Linked DNA regions of Homo sapiens: region 2 is linked to region 1. The links are contacts of gene promoters, found by promoter capture Hi-C in human tissues and cell types (Jung and others, 2019). All regions are on one chromosome and are shown on one strand. The core of a region is centred on a gene start or on the middle of the fragment in contact, and the rest is flanking DNA. Distances in the headings are between cores, read along the strand shown.

What was found. The method cuts DNA at HindIII sites, captures the fragments that hold promoters and counts their contacts. A contact is called where the count stands out against the background at its distance.
Region 2: a contact is called between a fragment that was not itself captured here and the fragment with the promoter of PYROXD1 in region 1, in 1 of the 25 tissues and cell types used here (H1 embryonic stem cells).

The regions. Positions count from the first base shown.
Region 1 is chr12:21,436,289-21,439,342 of GRCh38, forward strand. PYROXD1 (pyridine nucleotide-disulphide oxidoreductase domain 1) reads left to right here and starts at 1,367. Exons shown (of 12, transcript NM_024854.5): 1 at 1,367-1,526. The coding sequence starts at 1,443. RefSeq lists enhancers at 1,196-1,275, 1,326-1,515. The HindIII fragment of the contact is 3,974 bases long and covers 1-2,392 here.
Region 2 is chr12:22,564,020-22,567,033 of GRCh38, forward strand. No RefSeq gene overlaps it. Among named protein-coding and RNA genes, the nearest start is that of C2CD5-AS1, 13 kb to the right of the region's middle. The HindIII fragment of the contact is 4,924 bases long and covers 1-3,014 here.

The sequences.
Region 1 (3,054 bases), core at 117-2,616:
TGTCTTGAGGATGTTAGATAAAGTATCTTAAAGGGGAAGCAATGGCTTGATGAAACCAAAGGTTGATGAGTTAGCCAGGGAAAAGTAGTTGGGAAAAAGATATGTGCAAATGCTCAGAAAGAAAATGGCATATCCTGGGATCTGGAAGTGTAGTGTGGCCTGAATGGAACACAGTGTGAGTGAGATAATGTGAAAATAAGCTGAAGCAAGATGAGATCTAAATGGGCTTAAGGAATGTATTTCCTCCTCCTAGAAATGAATGCTTTGTTTGGTTGCTATACTAGTAACAGGAATTAGACACGTTTATTAAACCGCTTACCATTTAACTTGGTAAATCAAAGAACAATGATTTTTACAGGTATCAGTAAATGCCTGTAATTAGATACGTGGTAGGCTTTCCTGTTAATATATAATGGTTATTCTCAGTGTTTAAAGAATTAAAGGGACTCGGGTAATTACCAGTTTTAGAGTGAACCATTTGAGAGATAATACCTTACCATTACAAAACAACTCCTAGGGAAAGTTATATGAGACAGCAAAGGTAATAGTAAATAGTAAAATAATATGAATAGTGAATAATATAGTAAAAACAGTTAAAAATGATTTAGCAATTTCTTAAAAACAATTGACCACGAAAAAAATTCACAGTAAAACCGAGACTGGGAATATTTCATTCAACCCTCACACATGCTGCTATTGACTGGAAATTTAAGAAATGTTCATTTGTTTTGACAAAATGGAAAGCAACTGTACATTCTTCCTGGAAACTTTAGCTGAGGTCAAAGTTGTAAATGAAAAGGATGATTTTTTAGAGAACAATTCAGTAGTATTGTTTTGCCTTGTCATGAAGAATTTTTGTGCTTCCACAAACAAAAATCTTGGATTGTTAGGTGAACGGTGGCAATCAAGTGGTTTTCAGAAGACTCAAGTTTCTTCATCTACAAAAATGACAGGAGTGGGGTCAGGATGTTCCCGAAGGCTCCTTCTACTCATAAGAGCATAAAATCTGTGCCTCTAATTTCTCGCAGAAACAAATAATGAGAACTTCACACCAATTCATTTATTATATGAATGTTTTGTCCCGTGAGAACACTGGTCTATCTTTAGATATGTAATTTATCAAACTTCTTTGGGCAACCCATCTTCTTTACTTTTTTATTTTTAATTTTTTGGTTTTCTCTTTGTCAAATTTTCATGGAATAACTACATTCAGGTGTAGTAATAGTAACGCAAAGCTCTGAACACCACGAGACAATTCGTTGCTTCCGAAACGCAGCCGGCAGCAGGTACTCGAGATGAGTAGTGTGAGCTCCCGAGCACCCGTAGGTCGGATTATCTGGTAAGGCACCGGAAGTGACCGCCTCGCGGCTGCTTCCTCTCCTGGAGTCCAGAGTCCCGTTGCTCCGCCGCGATATTCAGTAAACCACTGGGAGTCCGGCAGCATGGAGGCAGCGCGCCCTCCCCCGACGGCAGGGAAGTTCGTGGTGGTCGGCGGCGGCATCGCGGGCGTCACTTGTGCGGAGCAGGTAGGGCGGTGCTCAGGCGGTTCCGCCTCTTTCCCCGACCCCAAAGGGGATAGCACTGGAGGCCTTCCTCCCACCCCCTCCCTTTTTCTTCTTCCGGGTTCCTTTTTTGCTGCGCCCTTTTCCGCACTTATTGCTCCCAGATTTTAGAAACTGCTTGGTGGTCCTCAGATGACCTCACTAGCTTTCTCTTAGGCGCAGGGAGGAGTGGGAGGCAAATTATAGCCGAGAAACCAAAGCTGGCTGATCCGTGCTCAGATCCTTGTAATGTCAGAGCAGACATGAGGACTTTGTATTTAGACAAAAAATTCAGCCCCCTTTCTTTTTATTTTTTTTTCTTTTTCTTTGAGACGGAGTCTCACTCTGTCGCCCAGACTGGAGGGCAGTGGTGCGATCTTGGCTTAATGCAAGCTTTGCCTCCCGGGTTCAAGCGATTCTTCTGTTGCGTCAGCCTGTAGCTGGGATTACAGGCGCCAGCCACCACGCCCCGCTAATGTTTGTATTTTTAGTAGAGACGGGCTTTCACCATGTTGGCCAGGCTGGTCTCGAACTCCTGGGCTCAAGCAGTCTGCCCGCTTCCGCCTACCGAAGTGCTGGCATTACAGGCCTGAGCCACAGCACCCGGCCCTCAGCCCCCTTTGTTAATTATCGTAGGTGATTGAGTTTAGTTTCCAGATAGTTGCCAAGTCTTTAGTGCATCTTAACTAATTAATAAAGAATCCCATATGTAAGTTTTCTATACTTCGAACTCCCAAGATAGAAGAAACTTTATTTCTAGTAAAGTTTTGTAAAATAATCAGCGAAGGATTAAATGCATGTAGGGCTTGCTTTCTTGATTATACTGAATAGCCAGACCATATATATTCAGATACATGTGTGTATTCCAAAAAGTTCTACATTATTTTGTTGATATAAAGTAAACATGAGCAATCACTGAAGTCATAAGAAATAGTGGAAGAAACTCAAGTGTTTCCATCGTTGGATGCGTATTTTCCGTTTATTCACTAAGTAAACATATATGATGCAGGCACCGTATTAAGGGCTGAGTGTTCAACTATGAACAGCATGGTATATACCATGCTGGGGACTCACAGCCTGCTGGAAGAGACAATATTACAATATTGTATGTCTATGCAAGAGATATCAACGGTTATCTTAGAGGTGCCTGTGGAGTATGTAGGGAGTGAATTAGGGAAGAGGAAATTTTTTTAATCAAAGAAGGTATTTTTAAAATCTCATTATGAAAGAATGAGTGAAAGTTTACCAAGTATTCAAGAAAAGAATGTCATCTCCAGTGGAAAAGCATGGATCATCAGGGAGCAGTAAAGCTTAAAGCATAGATCATAAGGAGTCTTAGCATGCTGAGAACTTAACAAGAATTTACAAGTAGTCAAATGTTTTTGAGCAGTGGAGTAACTTGATCATATGAAAAGGCTTGAAAGATGATTAGTTACAATGTATTTGTGGCAGAGGCAGCTGGTTTATACGTGAAACTGGAGAGCCAATTCGAAGGTGATTTCAGTAGTATAAA
Region 2 (3,014 bases), core at 171-2,670, 1.1 Mb after region 1:
GCTTAACATTTCCCTGTCTATTGGTTCCTTATCATTAGCATTTTTTTGAGACCAGTATCTGGAGTGAAGTGGTACAATTATGGCTCACTGCAGCTTTGACCTTCTGGGCTCAAGTGATCCTCCCATCTCAGCCTCCCAAGTAGCTGGGTCCACAGGGGTGTGCCACAGCACCAAGCTAGTTTTTTTATTTTTTACAGAGATAAGGTCTTGCTATGTTTCTCAGGCTGGTCTCGAACTCCCGGGCTCAAGCGATCCTCCCTCCTCGGCCTCCCAAAGTGCTGGAATTACAGGTGTGAGCCACTGGACCTGGTCCTCCTTACCATTAGCATTTTGATGATGCTATTATCAGTTGACACAGTTAGTCTCACACTCTCCTCCTTGAAACAATTTGTTCACTTGGTTTCCAGGATATCCCATTTCCAGTTGTCTGCCTTCCTCAATGGGCCACTCCTCCATTGTCTCATTTACTCATTTCTTCTCATGTCTCCTGCCTATAAACCAGTAGTTTTCAAACTTTTTGGTATCAAGGCCCCATTTACATTCTTAAAAATTATTAAAGCTCTCAAAGAGCTTTTGGTTATGTGGCTTTTATCTATCAGTTATGATTGTATCAGAAATTAAAGTTGAGACTTGAAAAGAATTATTGATTAATTTGTTTAAGTATGATAATTAGAAACCCACTACATGTTAACAGAAATACAATTTTTATGAAAAAATAGCTACATTTTCAAAACCTATGTACAATTTTTATGAAAAAAACTGTTTTTCAAAACAAATTAGTGAGAAAACTGGTATTGTTTTATAGTTTTGAAAATGTATTTACTGTCTAGTGTGGGGCTAGGTTCTGCAAACTACAGCCTATTGGACAAATTCAGACCACTGCTTGTTTTTATAAATATTTATTGGAATACAACCATGTTCATTAACTTACACAGTATTTGTGGCAGCTTTCTCACTACAATGAAAGAGTTGCATATTTGTGACAAAGAGAGACTATATGGCAGGCAAATCCTAAAATATCAACTATTTGGACTTTCATGGAAAAGGTTTGCCCACTCCTATTCTAGTTTAAAAGAAGACAGCTGGAGTGTCATTTCTCCTTCTAATTCAATCTATTCTAATGCATTGTTTGGGTTGAAGGATATGAAGAAAATCTGACCTAACTTAGGTAATATATTTGGAAAAAGGAAGAGTATTTTAATAGTCTTTTGAAATAATTTTGGATGTCCCCCTTTGATTTTGTACTTGAACTCCAAGTGGTAGTTTCTTGAAGGTCACTTGTAAAGTGCAATCTAAAGCTGTATCAGTAAACTTTTTGTACTCAGTTATGTGAAAATCTATTGTCTATCCTGCACTTTAAATGGCTTTTTTACCCATTCATGATTTTGTAACATTATGCATTGGTCAATTAGAAAATATTAGTTCCCTGAATTATGCAGATTTTTCAAATGTTGACACATCTCATTATATAATATCAAAAAATCACATTTCCTAATATCACTACTGATCTCACCTGACAATATTGGGAAGCTGTCAAGCTTACAGAGGCAAATCTTCCAAAATTTTTGCTTGAAAGTTTAAATGTTATCACTGGCAACAAATACAGTCAGTTGTTTTCCTTAAAGTGACAAGGTCACTTGGTTATTTTCTTTCTTTTTTTTTTTTTTTTTTTTTTTTTTTTGAGACGGAATCTCTCTCTGTCACCCAGCCTGGAGCGCAGTGGCGCGATCTCGGCTCACGGCAAGCTCCGCCTCCTGGGTTCCCGCCATTCTCCTGCCTCAGCCTCCCGAGTAGCTGGGACTACAGGCACCCGCCACCGCGCCCGGCTAATTTTTTTGTATTTTTAGTAGAGACAGGGTTTCACTATGTTAGCCAGGATGGTCTCAATCTCCTGACCTCGTGATCCACCCACCTCGGCCTCCCAAAGTGCTGGGATTACAGGCGTGAGCCACCGCACCCGGCCTACTTGGTTTATTTTCAAGAAAATGTCTGCCAAAAACCCAAGTTTGAATAAACCTAATTTTTCTGTTAGTTGATTTTCAGATAAAAAAATGTGTTTCATAAAGAAAGTCATCCAGCCTTCAATTCAAACAATGGCACAAGTGTCTTTCCTTGAGCCAATCAAAGTATTTTACTTTGGACCAGAAGTACTTTATGAGAAGTTTCCATGTTTTTACACTGAACATTGTTAATAAATAGATGTGTAATAAAGGATCATCAGGAATGGTTACTCTCTCCTCAGAGGCATTCTTACATTTTCATTTTAAACTACGAGAACAATAGTTGGCATTTCATTTTAACTACAAGAGCAACAGTGGTGAAGCATATAATAACTTCTAATTGAGTTTAGTACCACTGTCTTTGATTTATGCTGAAGTGACAGCAATTTACCCACCATTGTTTTTGTATTTCAGTGCGATTGTCAACACAGTAAAAAAAGAAAAAAAAAAGGCAGATAATATCTTTGTATGATTATGAAAATGTAGTTTTGACCTCCAGGTTTCCATATAAGAGTCTTAGGGAACCCCATGGGACCACAGATCATACTTTGAGAACAGCTGCTCTAAACATTGAAGTGTCTGTCTCAGAATTTAGTTATTGGATCTTCTCAATTTGCTCTAAATCCCTAGAAAATTCCATCTAGACTCATGGCTTTCAATCTTATTTCTATGCTCACAACTCTGAAGTTTATATCTCATATATAAATCAAGAATCATTGTCCTGCAGACTGGATGTCTATAGGTATTTCTAACTTAACATTCCTGAACAGAATCCCTGATGTTATTGTCCTCCCCCAGCTTACTAGTTTTGCCCTTTTTCTCATGTCATCATCTGGCCAAAAAATCCTTGAGACTTCTTGATTCTCTTTCTTTCACCTCACATTAAATCTATCAACAAACTTTCTCATAATTTAGAACCCAGATTCTGACCATTTCTCATCATCTGCACTGCTACTACCCGACTGCCACCATCATGTCTCAACTAGCTTACTGTATCACCTTGCTAAATTGTCT